Regions from separate parts of the Homo sapiens genome. Here all the other regions are linked to region 2. Evidence: promoter capture Hi-C in human tissues and cell types (Jung and others, 2019). All regions are on one chromosome and are shown on one strand. Each heading gives the region's core, a stretch centred on a gene start or on the middle of the fragment in contact. The rest is flanking DNA. Distances are from core to core; before and after follow the strand shown.

Region 1 (2,700 bases), core at 22-2,521, 510 kb after region 2:
ATTATTTTGCCTTATTTTGCATTTTCCCATTCACCAGTGAGGTTCAGATCCTTCTCATCTCTTTGTTGTTTCTTTGGATTATTTATTCTGTCATAAAGTGTCTTTAGTCTTTGTTCATTTAATTTTTTTGTGGTCTTACTGATTTATAATTGTTTATCTTGACTGGATATTGATTCTTTTATATGTTGCAAATATTTTTCTAGAGTCTTACTTCTCTTTTAGCTTGTTCAAAATATTTTTTCCCATGCAGAAGTCATTTTTTTTAAAGCTTTTTACTTATATCATGAACATGTTTTCATTTATTCCTTTTTTTTTTTTCTTTATTTGAGACAGGGACTCGCCCTCTTCCCCAGGATGGAGTGCAGTAGCACAATTATGGCTCACTGCAGCCTCAACCACCATCTGCCTGCCTTAGCCTCCTGAATAGCTGAGACCACAGGCATCCACTACCACACCCAGCTAATTTTTTGTTCTTTGTAGAGAATAGAGACAGAGTCTCACTATGTTGCTCAGGTTGGTCTCAAACTCCTGGGCTCAAACTCTCCTCTGGAAGTACTGTAATTACAGATGTGTGCCCCACTCCTGGCCTCATAAGTTCTTCTTAAGTTTACATCTTATATTCATTGTCTATTAATACCTAAGAAATTACTCCAAAAGGTAGTGACTTGAAACAACACTTAAAAAAAAAAATCTCACACTTTCTGTGGCTCAGGAATAAGGGCATGGCTTACCTGGCTACTTTGATTCACAGTCTCTCATGGGGGTTGTCGTCAAGGTGTTAGCTGGGTTGGAATCTGATCTGAAGGCTGAAATGGGGAAAGATGCAGTTCTAAGCTCACTTATGTGGTTGTTGGGAGGATTCATTTCCAGAATGAGAAATGAGGTAGTTTAGTTGAGGTCCTCAGTTTCTACCTGTCTGTTTGTCAAAGCCCACTTTTAGTTTTTTGTCACATGCACCTCCCCTATGTGCCAAATTGTTTAATCAAAGCTAGAAAATGACAGATTCTGCTAGCAAGATGGAAGTCATATAGAGTGTAATCTTAAAGTGGCATCTTGTCACTTTTGCTGTATTCTTTTCTTTAGAAACAAGCTTTTAGGCCACTTCATACTCAGGAGGATGGTACTGCACAGGGGCAGGAACACCTAGAGTGTAATAAAGAATTTGGCTAGCCTTTGTTTTCGTTCCTGGGAGGTAACCTCTAAACCCTTGTAATTACCCAAGTTATGAGTGTCTCTGTCATTCATGGTGGGCCACTCATATTTGATAGTTTATATCTATATGTATAGTGGTGACTCATAGTAGATCCCTAGATAATTTATGGCAATGACATGACTCTGGATAGGGGCTGCCCATGCCAAAAAGCGCACTAAGTGATTAGAGAGTTGTGGCTTTGAGCCATGTAATACCAGTCAGGAAGGGGAGGGAACTGGAGACTGAACTCAGCTACATGGGCAATGCTTCAATAAACTGTGCCTACATCATGAAGTCTCAATAAAATCTCTGGACATCAAAGTTTAGGTGCGCCTCGCTGGCTGGCAAGTACTCTTGAATATTGTTACACAATGTAGTCAGGAAGATGTAATGCCACCAAGGATTCCATGAGGAGAGGACAGTCAGCAGCTTTGTGTTTGGAACCTTCCCAGACCTCACCCTGTGCATATTTTCCTTTAGCTGATTCTGATTTGTGTCATTTTGCAATAGTAAAGTGCTAATTGTAAACACAGCACTTTCTTGGGTTCTCTGAGTTGTTCTATCAAGTTATTAAACCTGAGGGAGTCATGGTAGCTCCACACATTTGTAGCCAGCTCGCTGGAGTTGAGGGTGGTCTGTGTAGCCTTAAGCTTGCAGCTTGTGTCTGAAGTGAGGGCAGTCTTGTGGAGGATTGTGCTTTTAACCTGGGAAGTTTGGCCTAACCCAGGTAGTTGATGTCAGAAGTCACTGCAGCTAGAGAATGAGATTATCAGAGGACACCTTAGAGTTGGCCTGCAAGATTTCCATCCAGTAATAAATTCTTTTGGACTGTGGAGTGAGGTAGAAATTTAACTTTACACTTACCCAGTCGATAGACATCTCACATAAAGATTTTGGAATGAGATAAACTGACCAGGCTTGAGCACTTGCGCACTCTCATGAGTCTACTTTCTTGACTATGCAGCATCCCACACAGTAATATAGCATAGATTCTCTTATCAGTATTTCCTTGGATCTTAGTTACCTCTACTTCACACTCTGCAGTTCTCTGAAAAGTTATTGTGAAGCAGGAGAATGACAGTTTAGTTGACAAACAGGTCCTTGATATCATGGTTGTAAGACAGCAAGTCATCTGCTAGCCATGTGTTTTAATCCCAAATGGCCTTCCAAAATTGGCCTTTTTTGTTGCAAGAATTAGGACTTTGAAGATTGTATTCCATACGTTTCTGGATTCTATTATTGAAATGTCAGCCATCAGTATATTTTGTTATTTCTTTGTAGGTAATCTGTCTTTTGTCTCTTGATGATTCTATAGTTTTCCCTTTGCATTTGATGTATGGTAGTTTCAGTCTGATGTGTCACACCAGTTGTGACTTCCTGCTCTGAACTTGTTGGGATTTCTGAATTTGAGATTTGAGGTATTTAGTTCTGAAATATTTTAGGTTTTGGATATTTATTAATAGATATTGCTTCTCTATTACACTATTTTCCCTTTTAGAAACCATAAG
Region 2 (2,700 bases), core at 65-2,564:
ATTTTGTACCCCTCTTCTCTTCTGCTGTTTATCCCCCTTCTTCCCTCTATTCCTTCTCTTCCATCTCTTCTGCTCCATCCTCGCAACTTATTTAACCTCTTATTGCTCCTTCTCCCCAATCTTTCAATCGTCCTCAATCTCCATCTATTTCTGCCTCTTCACCCATCTCTGCGCCTCCTCTGCTCTCCCTGTTAAATTCTCTCTTCCCTGATATACTCCCCTGTCCCCACTCTGTGTCACCCCAGATCCCCAGGTGTCCTCCCTGCTGTGTTTCTCCCTCGGTTCTCCTTGACACCAGCACCACTCTGCTCTGTCTGCCCTGGCTCCAAATCCCTCCCTCTCTCCCTCACTCTGATGAGCCTCCCTCTTTGCTGCCACTCTCCCTACCTTGCCGTCCTTCATCTCTGTGTACATCTAGCTTTTCTCTACATTTCTCCAGTTGCTTTTCTCCACCTGCTTTTCTAGGTATTTTGTTGCTTTCTTTTTCCACTTTCACCATATCTTGGCATATCCCTCACCAATCCTCTATTTTGCCATCTGTTATGGGCCTTTCTTATTCTTTCTCTGTCTCAGGTTTTCTACTGCTGTCTGTCTCCTGATCCCTTCGGCCCACACAATCGCAGGAGGGTTTGGAGTAAGACGCCTGCATCCCGGAGGAGCGCGTTTTCCAAGGGCTGGAGCTCGGCAGGCAAGAAGACCCCATGTCACAGGACAGGGCCCTGCGTCCTTCCCAGTGTGGGTTCAATGGAAGCGGTGACTGCGGAGGAGAGACCTGGGGAGCCGCAGGCTCTGGCACGAGTAGGGAGGTGGGAGGAGGGGGGACGGCGCCTTGGGAGAAGGATGGGGTCTGCAAGATCCCAGGACCAGGCAGAGGACGCGGCCTCCCTGGGACTGGGGCTGCGGCGCGACGCTCCAGGGGCCGACGAGGGGTGGCTGGGAGGTGCGCCCCGGGCAAGAATCCACCTCGTGGGTGAAGACTTTAAATAGCGCGAGGAGGGAAGAGTCAGAAGAAGGTTTTGAGCAGAAAAACTACGCAATAGAAAGTGTATACATTGCCCTATAGCAGACAGACCCGGGACGGGACCAGCCTCCAGACGACTTTAAACCCGAAAGGAAGCGACACCCGGCCTCTCACTGGGCTGTCTCAATTTGCTCTGGGCGAAGGAAGACGGGCGAGAATTTCCAGGTCTGTGGGGACCCCACGTCCCAGGGACAGAAGCGGCGGGGACCTGGGAAGCGGAGACTTAATGCAACACAGAGCAAAACTCACCATGGCGACGTGACCTTCACTCCACCCGATCCGCTTCCGGGTTTGCGTTAATCTCCGCGCGCAGGACGGAAGCCAGGCCTGGGCGGGAGGTGGGAGGAGGTGGGCGGGGCCTGGGCGAGGTAGCGGCGGGGCGCGAGGCGCTGAGACCTTGCCCTTTAGAACCGGCAGAGGGCGGGGCCGGGGCGGGGCCGGGGCGGGACTTGCGCGTCTTTCAGCCTCTCTCCTAGCGTCTCTGTTTTTAGGTTGTGGAGGCGAGAGCGCCAGAAAGTCTGAGGCATGATTCCAAAGCCCTGGAATTGTCTGGAACCGGGATGCAAACTAGAATGTGAAATGCAAAGCCCTGCCTGGGCGGCATGTACGATGTCATGGTGACGGCCCACGGAACAGAATAGATGTCCTCTCCCTTTCTATCTCCATTCACTAGGGAGGGAGAGTCCACCCTGAGCTCAGCTTCAGAGACTTCCTTAAAGCCACCGCCAGGGGTGCGGGACGGAGTGCTTAGGCCAGGAAGGAGTGAGGTCACCACCTGCTGCTTAAACACAGCAGAGGCGCGGGGGCGGGAGCCTCAGGTCCCAGCTACTCAGGAAGCAACGGAGAGAATTGCTGAGCCTGGGGTCCCAAGCCAGCCTGGGCGACAAAGTAACACCCACTGCGGCAGGTCTCCCTTCCTAGTCTCTCTCTCTCTCTTTCCCTTTTTTTTTTTTTGGAGACAGAGTCTCACTCCGTCGCCCAGGCTGGAGTGCCGTGGAGTGATCCCAGCTCACTAGAACTTCCGCCTCCTGGTTTCAAGCGATACTCCGGCCTCAGCCTCCCGAGTAGCTGGGACTACAGGCATGCGCCACCATGCCCAGTTAATTTTGTATATTTAGTAGAGACAGGGTTTCACCATGTTAGCCAGGCTGAACTCCCGACCTCAGGTGATCCGCCCACGTCGGCCTCCCAAAGTGCTGGGATTACAGGCGTGAGCCACCGCGCCCGGGCCTTTTCCCTTTTTAAAAAAAAAAAAAAAACTTTTTTAAATAAAATTTTTGATGGTGTGACATAGGGATCCAACATTACTCTTTTCCATGTGGATATCCAGTTAGTTGTCCCAGCACATTTGTGGAAGAGATCTATTACTTTATTATTATTATTATTATTATTACTATTATTGAGACACAGTATTTCTGTTGCCCAGGCTGGAGTGCAGTGGCGAGATCTCAACTCAATGCAGCCTCTGCCTCCTGGGTTCAAGCGATTCTCCTGCCTCAGCCTCGGGAGCAGCTGGCATTACAGGCGCGTGCCACGATGCCCGGTTAATTTTTGTATTTTTCATAGAGACGGGGTATCACTACGGTGACCTGGCCGGTATCGAACTCCTCACTTTAAGTTATTTGCCTGTGTCAGCCTCCCAAAATGCTGGGATTACATGCGTCAGCCAACATGCCTGG
Region 3 (2,700 bases), core at 105-2,604, 420 kb after region 2:
ATTTTTAACCTATTTTCTAATTCAATTTTTTTTCTATGATATACTTTACTTTGTAGAGCAATTTTTGGTTCCCAGCAAAATTCAGTGGAAGGTACAGAGATTTCTCATATAGCTCCTTCCCCCACATATGCATAGCCTTCCCCATTGTCAACATCCTCCACCAAAGTGGTAGATTATCATCCAACATCCCTAGTTTATAGTTGGCTCACACTTGTACATTGTGTGGGTTTGGACAACTGTAAAATGGCACATATTCACATATTATGGTAACATACAGAGTACTTTGACTACCCTAATAATCCTCTTTGCTCAGTCTAAATTTGTGTATTTCTTTCACTTCTGTCACTTATTGCTTCACGTTTTGCAGCTGTTTTTTAGTGCATACACACTGATGGTTCTGAAATCATCTTTGTAAGTTGACATTTTTATCATGTAATCTCCCTGTTTTTCCCTGTTATTTTTATTTTCTCTGAAGATTACTTCTTTTGTTCCAGTCAATTTTGCAAGTTTATTTGCCAAAGTTAAGGATGCTTGCCTGTGACACAGCCTCAAGAGGTCCTGGCCACATATACCCAAGGTGGTTGGGGCGCAGCTTGGTTTTATACACTTTTAGGAGATATCAGTTAATGTGTAAGATGCACATTGGTTTGGTTTGGAAAGGCAGGGTAAGTCCAAGCAGGGAGGGTGCTTCCAGGTCATCGGGTAGATAAAAGACAAAGGTTGCATTCTTTTGGGTTTCTGGTAAGCATTTTCAAAGGAAGCAATCACACACATTTATCTCAGTGAGCAGAGGGATGATTTGAATAGAATGGGAAGCATGTTTGCCCTAAGCAGTTCCCAGCTTGACTTTTCCCTTTGGCTTAGTGAGTGTTGGGTGCCAAGATTTATTTTCCTTTCACATTTCCCCTTTTCTCCTTTAAAAATCTTTGGGAGAGGCTGGGTGCGGTGGCTCACGCCTGTAATCTCAGCATTTTGGGAGGCCAAGGCGGGCGGATCACGAGGTCAAGAGATGGAGACCATCCTGGCCAACGTGGTGAAACCCCATCTCTACTAAAAATACAAAAATTAGCCAGGCGTAGTGGCACATGCCTGTAGTCCCAGCTACTCAGGAGGCTGAGGCAGGAGAATCACTTGAACCTGCAAGGCAGAGGTTGCAGTGAGCCCAGATTACGTTACTGCACTCCAGCCTGGGGACAGAACGAGACTCCGTCTCAAAAAAAAAAAAATCAGGTTTCATCTGATCCTTCATGGCTAGGACAGTTTATTTTCAGGTGGGCAAGTCCCATGTTATTTGGAAAGCTCATTTTTAGCAGTTTGTAAAGTGTCGTGTCCTATGAAGAGAAAATAGCAGGAGGAAGGAAGAAAAACAAAGAATAATCCTGGAAAATAGATACAGGCCATATTACTCTGAAGTCCATACATCAGTAGATAGGTATGAAAGTGGCTTATGTATGTGAATAGGTTGCTGTTATTTTCTTCTGAAGTTTAAGTTGTCTAGCTTCAGTTATCAGGGCTTCAAGAAAATACAGTTTAGTTTTCAGTGATTTCAAATTAGAAAATATGGGGGAAAAAAGAAAAGAAAGAAGAAAAAATTGAAAACATTATTTCAGAGACATGTAGCTGGAAAAAATTAGAATTCAGTCCAAACTGTGGAAAATCATAAAAATTGAAAAACGTAAGCTGGGCGCCATGGCTCACGCCTGTAATCCCAGCACTTTGGGAGGCTGAGGCAGGCAGATCACGAGGTCAAGAGATCAAGACCATCCTGGCCAACATGGTGAAACCCCGTCTCTACTAAAAATACAAAAATTAGCTGGGTGTGTTGGCACATGCCTGTAGTCCCAGCTACTCAGGAGGCTGAGGCAGGAGAATCGCTTGACCTCGGGAGGCAGAGGTTGCAGTGAGCCAAGATCGTGCCACTGCATTCCAGCCTGGCAACAGAGTGAGACTCCATCTCAAAAAAAAAAAAAAAAAAAAAAAAGAATACTCAGAAATAGTTTCCAAATTCTGGAGAAAGCAGGTAGAGAGAAACAAATATGTTCCAAATTTTCTTCACAGCAGTATACTTTCCTCAATTGTTAAATGCTGTCGGCTGGGCACGGTGGCTCATGCCTATAATCCCAGCACTTTGGGAGGCAAGGTGGGCGGATCACCTTAGGTCAGGAGTTCGAGATCAGCCTGGCCAACATGGTGAAACCCCGTCTCTACAAAAATTACCTGGGCATGATGGTGGGTGCCTGTAATCCCAGCTACTTGGGAGGCTGAGGCAGGAGAATCGCTTGAACCTGGGAGGCTGGGAGGCAGGGGCTGCAGTGAACCCAGATCATGCCATTGCACTCCAGCCTGGGCAACTGTCTCAAAAAAAAAAAAAATTGCTGTCAATAGCTCAAAAGAAAAGTTTCCTTGACTCTGCAAAACAAAACAAAGGATCAAAAGAAAAAATCAGAAAGATTACTTTAGACTCCTATTAGTTCAGTCCATGCAGTTAATGTGTGTTGTGTTTGATATTCATGAACATTTTAGTTATCCATGAAAGTTTTGAAAGTTCTTTCCTCTATTCCTCTATTCTAATGTCACATTTTCCAAAGTTATCAGAAACTTGCATTCCAGAGCACCTATCAAATTCCTGTAGCTGATTATAAACCAACTTTTGAAGAGGATCCAAACAAGACAACAATTGCCTGTGGCAACAAAATGTCT
Region 4 (2,700 bases), core at 184-2,683, 260 kb before region 2:
ACACTAACCCATGCCTTTTCTCAGTCCTTGTCATCTTCACTTAAATTCCATCTTCTATAACCTAGTGACATGAGCTTGGGAAGAGGCTGCACTGGGCATGGTCCTGGGAAGGGCTCACACCAGAGATGGATGGAGATGGGGTGTGGACCCCAAGGTGTCAGTGATATTGGGCAGCAGGGATTGTTCAGGGGCCACATCTGGATGCACATTTAGCTCTTTGTGGATCAGATCAGAGAATCTATGTATGAAAGTCATACATTAATGTATGCACTGGTATCTGTGTACTGGTATCTGGTAAATTCTGGAAAAGGAGACAAACTAGGGGAGATATTTCTTTTTCTTTTTCTTTTTCTTTTTTTTTTTTGAGACGTAGCCTCGCTCTGTCGCCCAGGCTGGAGTGCAGTGGCACGATCTTGGCTCACTGCACGCTCCGCCTCCCGGGTTCACTCCATTCTCCTGTCTCAGCCTCCCTAGTAGCTGGGATTACAGGCACCCACCACCACGCTTGGCTAATTTTTTTGTATTTTTTAGTAGAGATGGGGTTTCACTGTGTTAGCCAGGATGGTCTCGATCTCCTGACCTCATGATCTGCCCGCCTCAGCCTCCCAAAGTGCTGAGATTACAGGTGTGAGCCAGCGCGCCCGGTCTTGTTTTTGTTTGGGTTAGGCGGGCTCCTGTAGTTCCAGTTACTCGAAAGGCTGAGGCAGGAGAAGGGCGTGAACCCGGGAGGCGGAGCTTGCAGTGAGCCAAAATCGTGCCACTGCACTCCAGCCTGGGCGACACAGCGAGACTCCGTCTCAAAAAAAAAAAAAAAAAAAAAAAGTAAAAGAGCGAGAGAGAGATCAGGAAGAGGACCCTGCAGTTAGGGGGTGTTACTTTGTCGCCCAGGATGGCCTGGACCCCCAGGTTCAGGGATTCTCCCGCCGCTGCTTCCTGAGTAGCTGGGACCTCAGGCTTCCGCCTCGTGCCCGCATCCCTGCTGTGTTTAGGCAGCAGGTGGTGACCTCACTCCTCCCTGGCCTGAGCTCTCCGTCCCGCATCCCAGGCGGAGGCCCTAGGGAACACTTTGAAGCTGAGCACGGGGTGGACCCTCCCTCCTGAGTGAATGGAGAATAGAAAGGGAGAGGATTTCTGTTCTGTTCTGTGGGCCATCAGCATGAAATCGTATGTTCCGCCCTGGCAGGGCTTTGCATTTCACATTCTAGTTTGCATTCCCGTTCCAGATAATTCCAGGGCTTTTGAATCATGCCTCAGCCTTCCTGGCCGCTGTCGCCTCCAAAAACTCGAAAAACAGAGGCGCTGAGTGCGAGGCTGAGAAGCACAGGTCCCGCCCCGGGCCCTCCCTCTGCCGGTTCTAAAGGGCAAGGTCTCTCCGCCTGGGGCCCCGCCTCTACCCCGCCCAGGTCCAGCCAACCTGCCCCGGCCTGGCTTCAGTCCTGGGCGCGCACAAACCCGGAAGCGGATCGCGTGGAGTGAAGGTCCTACCACGGCGCGTGAGTTTTGCTCTGCCTTGGATTAAGTCTGCACTTCCCAGGTCCCCGGCGCTTCTGCCCCTGGGACGTGGGATCCCCACGGACCTGGAAATTCTCGCCTGTCTTCCCTTCACCCAGAGCAAATTGAGACGTCCCGGTAAGAGTCTGGAAGTTGCTTGCTTTTGGGTTTGAAGTCGCTCGGAGGCTGGTCCCGTCCCCGGTCTTTCTGCTATAGGGCAATGTATACACTTCCTATCGCGTATTTTTCCTGCTCAAAACATTTTTCTGACTATTCCCGCCCCGTGCTTTTTAAAGTCCTCACCCGCGAGGTGGATTCCAGCCCTGGGCGCCTCCCAGCCTCGCCCCAGTTGGCACCTGGAGCGCGGCGCCCCGGCCCCAGCCCCGGGGAGGCTGCGTCCTCTGCCTGGTCCTGGGATCCTGCAGGTCCCACCTTTGTCTTAGGGTGCCGTCGCCCACCACGTCCCTCCTGGTGCCGGGCCCTGCTGCTCCCCAAGTCTTCGCTTCCCCTGAGCCAGGGTTGGGGTGGGTCGCAGGGGCTTGTCCTATGATACCAGGTGTTCTTTCCTGTCCAGCTCCACCCCCTGGAAAATGCGCTTCTACGGGATGCAGGCGTCTTACTCCAAACCCGCCTGTGATTACTCCAAACCCGCCTGGGCCAAAGGGATCAGGAGATAGAGAGAGGGACTGAGAGAGCAGTAGAAAACCAGAGACAGAGAAAAGAAGAATGAGAAAGGCCCATAACAGATGGCAAAGTAGAGGATGGGTTAGGAATTTGCCAAGAGACAGCAAAAGTGAAAGAAAAAAAACTAAGAAAGCAGGAGGAGAAAAGCAACTGGAGAAATGTAGAGAAAAGCTAGATGTACAGAAAGATGAAGGACAGCAAGGTAGGGAGAGGGGCAGCAAAGAGGGAGGCTCACCAGAGTGAGGGAGAGGAGGAGGGATTTGGAGCCAGGGCAGACAGAGCAGAGTGGTGCTGGTGGCAAGAACAGATGGAGAACCACAGCAGGGAGGACACCTGGGGATCTGAGGTGCTGGAGAGTGGGGACAGAGGGGTATAACAGGGAAGAGAGAATTTAATAGGGAGAGCAGAGGAGACGGAGAGATAAGAGAAGAGGCTGTAATATATAGACATTGAGGAAGATTGAAAGATTGGGGAGAAAGAACAACAAGAGGTTAAATAAGGACCGGGCGCTGTGGGTCATGCCTG
Region 5 (2,700 bases), core at 74-2,573, 440 kb before region 2:
CTGTAGAAATGATTTAAAGGACTTGTAATCGCCCTTTATTTATTAAAGAACCTTACTCCTTTTGTGTTCTTAAACTTTGAAAATCATGTTTGGGAATTTCAAAATAAATATTGTTTTTTGTGTCCTAGTTACATATTTCAGTATTATTTACCATCTGCACTTAATTGGAAACCTATTGTTGTTTATATTTTGTAGCTATCTCTTCCAAATGCATGACAAGGAAGTTCTCATCAAGAAGGCAAGGCAATACAGAAGTGTTCCACACAGGGACATTGCAAAGACAAGCAAGTCATCACACTGGAGATTTTTCCTTCCAGGAAATTGAGAAAGATTTTCAGGACTTTGAGTTTCAGTGGCAAGAAGATGAAAGAAATGGCCATGAAGCACTCATGACAGAGATAAAAAAGTTGACAGGTAATACAGACTGATATGATCAAAGGCATGCTGGAAACAAACCTATTAAAGATCAGCTTGGATCAAGCTTTCATTCACATCTGCCTGAACTGCATATATTGCAGAGCAAAGGGAAAATTGATAGTCAAGATGAGAAGTCTGTCAATGATGCTTCCTCAGTTTCAGCATCCCAAAGAATTTCTTGTATTCCTAAAACCCATATTTCTAATAAGTATGGGAATAATTTCCTCCAGGAAGCACACATGAGAGAAAAATCTTTCCAATGTAATGAGAGTGGCAAAGCCTTTAATTGTAGCTCACTGTTAAAAAAATGTCAGATAATCCATTTAGGAGAGAAAAAATATAAATGTGATATATGTGGCAAGGTCTTTAATCAGAAGCGATACCTTGCATACCATCATAGATGTCACACTGGTGAGAAACCTTACAAGTGTAATCAGTGTGGCAAGACCTTCAGTTACAAGTCATCCCTTGTAATTCACAAGGCAATTCATACTGGAGAGAAACCTCACAAGTGTAATGAATGTGGCAAGGTTTTTAATCAAAAAGCATATCTTGCAAGTCATCATAGACTTCATACTGGAGAGAAACCTTACAAATGTGAAGAATGTGACAAAGTTTTTAGTCGCTAATCACACCTTGAAAGACATAGGAGAATTCATACTGGAGAGAAACCGTACAAATGTAAGGTTTGTGACAAGGCTTTCAGACGTGATTCACACCTGGCACAACATATTGTAATTCACACTGGAGAGAAACCTTACAAGTGTAATGAGTGTGGCAAGACCTTTGTTCAAAATTCATCTCTTGTAATGCATAAGGTCATTCATACTGGAGAGAAATGTTACAAGTGTAATGAATGTGGCAAGGTTTTTAATCACAAATCAAACCTTGCATGTCATCATAGACTTCATACTGGAGAGAAACCTTACAAGTGTAATGAATGTGGCAAGGTTTTTAATTGAAAATCAAACCTTGAACATCATCATAGAGTTCATATCGGAGAAAAACCTTACAAATGTGAAGAATGTGACAAAGTTTTCAATTTCAATTCACGCCTTGAAATACATAGGAGAGTTCATACTGGAGAGAAACCATAGAAATGTAAGGTTTGTGACAAGGCATTCGGGTGTGATTCACACCTGGCACAACATACTAGAATTCACACTGGAGAGAAACCGTGCAAGTGTGATGAGTGTGACAGAGCCTTCAGTGGTCAGTCAACACTTATTCACCATCAAGCAATCCATGTCATAGGGAAACTTTACTAATGTAATGATTGTCACAAAGTCCTCAGTAATGCTACAACCATTGCAAATTATTGGAGAATGCATAATGAAGTGAGAACTTACAAGTGTTATAAATGTGGCAAATTTTTCAGACTTCGTTCATACCTTGCAGTTTATCAGCGAACTCATACTGGAGAGAAACCTTACAAATGTGATGATTGTGGCAAGGTCTTCAGTCAAGCTTCATCTTATGCAAAACACAGGTGAATTCATACAAGAAAGAAACCTCACAAGGGTGATGATTGTGTCAAAGCCTTTATTTCAGGTTCATGCCTCATTACACATCAGAGAATCCATACTAGACAGAGATCTTACAAAAGTCATATGTGTGGCAAGATCTTTAGTCTGAGGTCACTCCTTGCAGGACATCAGGAAATTCATTTTTGAGGTAATAATTTCAAATGCAATGAGTATAGCAAACCATCAAGCACAATTGATGTTAGATTCAAATCAGCATTGAGTTCAGTTTGAGTTGACTTAACATTGAGTTCAAGTATTTGTTGAGATTAAAGTGTTTATGTTAAGAGGATTAGGCCAGGTGCGGTGGCTCACACCTGTAATCCCAGCACTTTGGGAGGCCAAGACAGGTAGATCACTTGAGATCAGGAGTTTGAGAGCAGCCTGGCCAACAGAGGTGAGCACCTTTCCCAGTCTGTTTTTTGTTTCTTCAACAAAAACTGATAGAGATTTTTATGGGTATTGTGTTGAATCAAAATCACATTGGGTTATGTAATCATTTAACAGTATTAATTTTTCCAAAACATCAATATGGGTTATATCTTTATATATGTTTTTAATCATTTTGATCAATGTTTGTAGATTTCAATGTATGAATTTCTCACTTCTTTCCATTTATTCCTATTTCTTACTTTAAGTTCTCTAGCAAATGGAAGTGTTTTTAAATTTTCATTTAAAATTGTTTATTGTTAATGTATGAAAATTCAACGAATTTTTGGTGCTGATATTGTATTGTGCAAATCTACTGATGTGTTTATTA
Region 6 (2,700 bases), core at 72-2,571, 310 kb before region 2:
GGGACATTGCACAGACAAGCAAGTCATCACATTGGAGAATTTTGTTTCCATGAAATTGAGAAAGACATTCATGGCTTCGAGTTTCAGTGGAAAGAAGATGAAACAAATGGCCATGCAGCACCCATGACAGAAATCAAAGAGTTGGCTGGTAGTACAGGCCAACATGATCAAAGGCATGCTGGAAACAAGCGTATTAAAGATCAGCTTGGATCAAGCTTTCATTTGCATCTGCCTGAACCGCACATATTTCAGTCTGAAGGGAAAATTGGTAATCAAGTTGAGAAGTCTATCAACAATGCTTCCTCAGTTTCAACATCCCAAAGAATTTGTTGTAGGCCCAAAACCCATATTTCTAATAAGTATGGAAATAATTCCCTCCATTCTTCATTACTCACACAAAAATGGGAAGTACACATGAGAGAAAAATCTTTTGAATGTATACAGAGCTTCAAATCCTTTAATTGCAGCTCACTCTTAAAAAAACATCAGATAATTCACTTAGAAGAGAAACAATGTAAATGTGATGTATGTGGCAAGGTCTTTAATCAGAAGCGATACCTTGCCTGCCATCGTAGATGTCACACTGGTGAGAAACCTTACAAGTGTAATGAGTGTGGCAAGACCTTTGGTCATAATTCATCCCTCTTCATTCACAAAGCGCTTCATACTGGAGAGAAACCTTATGAATGTGAAGAATGTGACAAAGTTTTCAGTCGCAAATCACACCTTGAAAGACATAAGAGGATTCATACTGGAGAGAAACCATACAAATGTAAGGTTTGTGATGAGGCTTTCGCATATAATTCATATCTGGCAAAACATACTATACTTCACACTGGAGAGAAACCTTACACATGTAATGAATGTGGCAAAGTTTTTAATCGACTATCAACCCTTGCACGCCATCATAGACTTCATACTGGAGAGAAACCTTACAAATGTGAAGAGTGTGACAAAGTTTTCAGTCGCAAATCACACCTTGAAAGACATAGGAGGATTCATAGTGGAGAGAAACCTTACAAATGTGAAGAATGTTGCAAAGTTTTCAGTCGCAAATCAAACCTGGAAAGACACAGGAGGATTCATACTGGAGAGAAACCATACAAATGTAAGGTTTGTGACAAGGCTTTCCAGAGGGATTCACACCTGGCACAACATCAGAGAGTTCATACTGGAGAGAAACCTTACAAGTGTAATGAGTGTGGCAAGACCTTCGGTCAGACATCATCGCTTATAATCCATCGTAGGCTTCATACTGGAGAGAAACCTTACAAGTGTAATGAGTGTGGCAAGACCTTCAGTCAGATGTCATCCCTTGTATACCATCATAGGCTTCATAGTGGAGAGAAGCCTTAATAGTGTAATGAGTGTGGCAAGACCTTCCATCACAATTCAACCCTGTAAGTCATAAGGCAATTCATACTGGAGAGAAACCTTACAAGCATAATGAATGTGGCAAGGTTTTTAATCAAAAAGCAACCTTTGCACATCACCATAGACTTCATACTGGAGAGAAACCTTACAAATGGGAGGAATGTGACAAAAGTTTTCAGTTGTAAATCAAACCTTAAAACACATAAGAAAATTCACATTGAAGAGAAACCATACAGAGGTAAGGTTTGTGACAAGGTTTTTGCATATAATGCATATCTGGCAAAACATACTAGAATTCACACTGGAGAGAAACTCATTATAAGTGTAATGAGTGTGGCAAGACCGTTGGTCAAAATTCACACCTTGTAATTAAAAGGTCAAAATTCACACCTTGTAATTCATAGTGGAGAGAAACCTTACAAGCACAATGAATGTGACATGGTTTTTAATCAACAATCACACCTTGCAAGTCATCATAGACTTCATACTGCATAGAAATCTTACAAACGTGAACAATGTGACAAAGTTTTCATTCACAAATCCAGCTTCAAATACATAGGAGAATTCACACTGGAGAAAAGCCATAGAAATGTAAGGTTTGTGACAAGGCTTTCGGGAATGATTCACACGTGGCACCCCATACTAGAATTCACACTGGAGAGAAACCTTACAAGTGCAATGAGTGTGGCAAACCCTTTAGTGGGCAGTCACCACTTATTCACCATCAAGCAATCCATGGTATAGGGAAACTTGACTAATGTAATGATTGTCACAAAGTTTTCAGTAATGCTACAACCATTGCACATCATTGGAGAATCCACAGTGAAGAGATCTTACAAGTGTAATAAATGTGGCAAATTTTTCAGACATCGTTCATGCCTTGCATTTCACTGGTGAACTCATGCTGGAGAGAAACCTTATAAATGTCATGATTGAGGCAAGGTCTTCAGTCAAGCTTCATCCTATGCAAAACATAGGAGGATTCATACAGGAGAGAAACCTCACAAGTGTGATGATTGTGGCAAAGCGTTTACTTCACATTCACACCTCATTAGACATCAGAGAATCCATGCTGGACAGAAATCTTACAAATGTCATCAGTGTGGAAGGGTCTTCAGTCCAAGGTCACTCCTTGCAGACCATCAGACAATTCCTTTTGGAGACAGTTGTTTCAAATGCAGTGAGTATAGCAAACCATCAAGCATTAATTGACATTAGAGTCAAATCAGCCTTGACCTGAGTTTGTTGATTTAACATTGATTTCAAGCATTAATTGCCATTAAACTGTTTATGTTAAGAGGATTGCACTGGGGGCCATGGCTCATG
Region 7 (2,700 bases), core at 110-2,609, 340 kb before region 2:
CATTTTCTGAATGAAGACGTGTGAGTCCTTCCCAGTTTTTCACCGTTACCAAGAATGCCACCCTGGCTGCCTCTGAGTGTGTTGACTTCACTACATGTATGTGGAGGGTTCCTGCAGGAGGGGTTTCACAGTTCTGACCTCAGGTGATCTGCCCACCTCGGCCTCCCAGATTGCTGGGATTACAGGCATGAGTCACTGCACCCAGCGCATGAGTAACTGCATCCAGCCTTATGATTTTATATATATATATATGTATAATCATATATATAAATATATGTATAATCATATATATAAATATATGTATAATCATATATATAAATATATGTATAATCATACATATATAAATATATGTATAATCATACATATATAAATATATGTATAATCATACATATATAAATATATGTATAATCATATATATAAATATATGTATAATCATATATATGTATAATCATATATATAAATATGTATAATATATAAATATATATGTATAATCATATATATAAATATATGTATAATATATAAATATATATGTATAATATATAAATATATGTGTATAATCATATATAAATATATGTGTATAATCATATATATAAATATATGTATAATATATAAATATATATGTATAATATATAAATATATGTGTATAATCATATATAAATATATGTGTATAATCATATATATAAATATATGTGTATAATCATATATATAAATATATGTGTATAATCATATATATAAATATATGTGTATAATCATATATATAAATATGTGTATAATCATATATAAATATATGTATAATATATATGTATAATCATATAATATATATGTATAATCATATATAAATATATATGTATAATCATATATAAATATATATGTATAATCTCATATATAAATATATGTATAATCATATAAATATATATGTATGATCATATAAATATATATGTATAATCATATATAAATATATATGTATAATATATAAATATATATGTATAATATATATGTATTATATATATATGTAATATATATATATGTATTACATATATATATATATATAAAGCCTGGACCCTGCACAGAACGCTTTATACAGGGCCGTGATTTGGGAGAACTACAGGAACCTGGAGTCTGTGGGTGAGGAAAATGTCCCTCCAGACCATATATATATATTTGAAATGGGGTACCGTTCTTCTCACCCAGTCTGGAGTCCAGTAGCACGATCTCAGCTTGCTGCAACCTCTGCCTTCTGGGTTCAAGCGATTCTTCTGCCTCAGGCTCCCCAGTAGCTGGGATTACAGGTGCCCACGACCACACCCAGCTCATTTTTGTATTTTTAGTAGCGACGTTGTTTCATCACTTTGACCAGGCTGGTCTCCAACTCCTGACCTCAGGTGATCTGCCCACCTCTGCCTCCCAAAGTGCCAGGATTGCAGGCATGAGCCACTGTGCCCCACCTTTTTAAAAATTTTATTTTTTATTTTTGAGAAGGAGTCTCGCTCTATCACCCAGGCTGGCGTGTAGTGGCCCGATCTCGGCTCACTGCAAGCTCTACCTCCCAGGTTCACACCATTCTTCTGCCTCAGCCTCCTGAGTAGCTGGGACTACAGGTGCCTGCCACCACGCCTGGCTAATTTTTTGTACTTTTAGTAGAGACGGGATTTCACTGTGTTAGCCAGGATGGTCTCGATCTCCTGACATCATGATCTGCCTGCCTCGGCCTCCCAAAGTGCTGAGATTGAAAGCGTGAGCCACCGCACCTGGCCAATTTTTATTTTTATTTTATTGAGATGGAGTGTCTCTCTGTTGCTCCAGCTATAGTGCACTGATGTTATCTTGGCTCACTGCATCCTCTGCCTCCTGGGAGAAGAGGAGTTTTCACCATGTTGTTCAGGCTGATCTCAAACTCTTGACCTTGTGATCTGCCTCCCTCCACTTCTCAACGTGCTGGGATTACACGCTTGAGCCACTATGGCTGGCCCTGACTTTCTTTTCTTTAGGCCACTGGACTTTGTCATCTCTGAGACTGCACTTGTATTTTAGCTCATCCAGATAATGAATATCAAGTGTTAGGCTGAACATAATATCTAACGTATTTATAGAGAAAACACTATATTTAGTTTTTATTTGTAAATTTTTTACTTAGGGGATCTTGAAATCTCTCATGGAAAAGTACAATAAAATGCAACGATAGAGAAAAGATGTTCAAAAATACCTTAATACGGGTTTGTCAGAACATATTCTTTGGCCCAATCGATACTTAATTTCCCATTTCTCATTTCGTGTGAAGGTGATAACGCCTCCATAATGTTTTATTTAAACGTGTTTCTCATTTTAGGGATACTTGACTTTCAGAGATGTGGCTATAGAGTTCTCTTTGCTGGAGTGGAAACGCCTGGACCCTGCACAGAACGCTTTATACAGGGCTGTGATGTGGGAGAACTACAGGAACCTGGAGTCTGTGGGTGAGGAAAATGTTCCTCCAGACATGAAGAATCTGTCCTTGTGTATCTTGGCTTTTCCTGGTTTTGTATTCTCTTTTGTGATTTTGCCCCATACGTGCTTTTGATGTACACAGCTGGGATTCCAGGCACGTGCCACCATGCCCAGCATGTTATTTTGTATCTTTAGTGGAGATAGGGTTTTGCCATGTTGGCCAGGCTCGTCTCGAACTCCTGACCTCCATACCCACCCGCCTCGGCCTCTAAAGTG

The links. The method cuts DNA at HindIII sites, captures the fragments that hold promoters and counts their contacts. A contact is called where the count stands out against the background at its distance.
Region 1: a contact is called between a fragment that was not itself captured here and the fragment with the promoter of ZNF808 in region 2, in 1 of the 25 tissues and cell types used here (dorsolateral prefrontal cortex).
Region 3: a fragment that was not itself captured here is called in contact with the fragment with the promoter of ZNF808 in region 2 in 1 of the 25 tissues and cell types used here (adrenal gland).
Region 4: the fragment with the promoter of ZNF600 here is called in contact with the fragment with the promoter of ZNF808 in region 2 in 1 of the 25 tissues and cell types used here (mesenchymal stem cells).
Region 5: a contact is called between a fragment that was not itself captured here and the fragment with the promoter of ZNF808 in region 2, in 3 of the 25 tissues and cell types used here (H1 embryonic stem cells, lymphoblastoid cells and mesendoderm cells).
Region 6: a contact is called between a fragment that was not itself captured here and the fragment with the promoter of ZNF808 in region 2, in 6 of the 25 tissues and cell types used here (aorta, bladder, dorsolateral prefrontal cortex and 3 more).
Region 7: a contact is called between a fragment that was not itself captured here and the fragment with the promoter of ZNF808 in region 2, in 1 of the 25 tissues and cell types used here (spleen).

The regions. Positions count from the first base shown.
Region 1 is chr19:52,019,357-52,022,056 of GRCh38, reverse strand. All of the region lies in intron 2 of ZNF614 (zinc finger protein 614), which reads left to right. It overlaps LOC124904755 (a long non-coding RNA gene), which reads right to left. Exons shown (of 2, transcript XR_007067321.1): 2 at 1-806. Among named protein-coding and RNA genes, the nearest start is that of ZNF614, 7.7 kb to the left of the region's middle. The HindIII fragment of the contact is 3,065 bases long and covers 1-2,700 here.
Region 2 is chr19:52,526,282-52,528,981 of GRCh38, reverse strand. It overlaps ZNF808 (zinc finger protein 808), which reads right to left and starts at 1,314. Exons shown (of 5, transcript NM_001039886.4): 1 at 1,271-1,314. RefSeq lists enhancers at 1,041-1,868, 1,869-2,695. The HindIII fragment of the contact is 14,459 bases long and covers 1-2,700 here.
Region 3 is chr19:52,105,437-52,108,136 of GRCh38, reverse strand. No RefSeq gene overlaps it. Among named protein-coding and RNA genes, the nearest start is that of ZNF841, 11 kb to the right of the region's middle. The HindIII fragment of the contact is 6,263 bases long and covers 1-2,700 here.
Region 4 is chr19:52,785,524-52,788,223 of GRCh38, reverse strand. It overlaps ZNF600 (zinc finger protein 600), which reads left to right and starts at 1,433. Exons shown (of 6, transcript NM_001321866.4): 1 at 1,433-1,629. RefSeq lists a silencer at 1,275-1,424 and enhancers at 757-1,614, 1,615-2,473. The HindIII fragment of the contact is 28,786 bases long and covers 1-2,700 here.
Region 5 is chr19:52,968,338-52,971,037 of GRCh38, reverse strand. It overlaps the pseudogene ZNF702P. Among named protein-coding and RNA genes, the nearest start is that of ZNF816-ZNF321P, 6.8 kb to the right of the region's middle. The HindIII fragment of the contact is 4,137 bases long and covers 1-2,700 here.
Region 6 is chr19:52,839,381-52,842,080 of GRCh38, reverse strand. ZNF468 (zinc finger protein 468) reads left to right here. Exons shown (of 4, transcript NM_001008801.2): 4 at 1-2,700. The coding sequence ends at 1,356. Among named protein-coding and RNA genes, the nearest start is that of ZNF468, 17 kb to the left of the region's middle. The HindIII fragment of the contact is 4,505 bases long and covers 1-2,700 here.
Region 7 is chr19:52,863,786-52,866,485 of GRCh38, reverse strand. It overlaps a transcript of ZNF320 not described here. Among named protein-coding and RNA genes, the nearest start is that of ZNF468, 7.5 kb to the right of the region's middle. The HindIII fragment of the contact is 8,657 bases long and covers 1-2,700 here.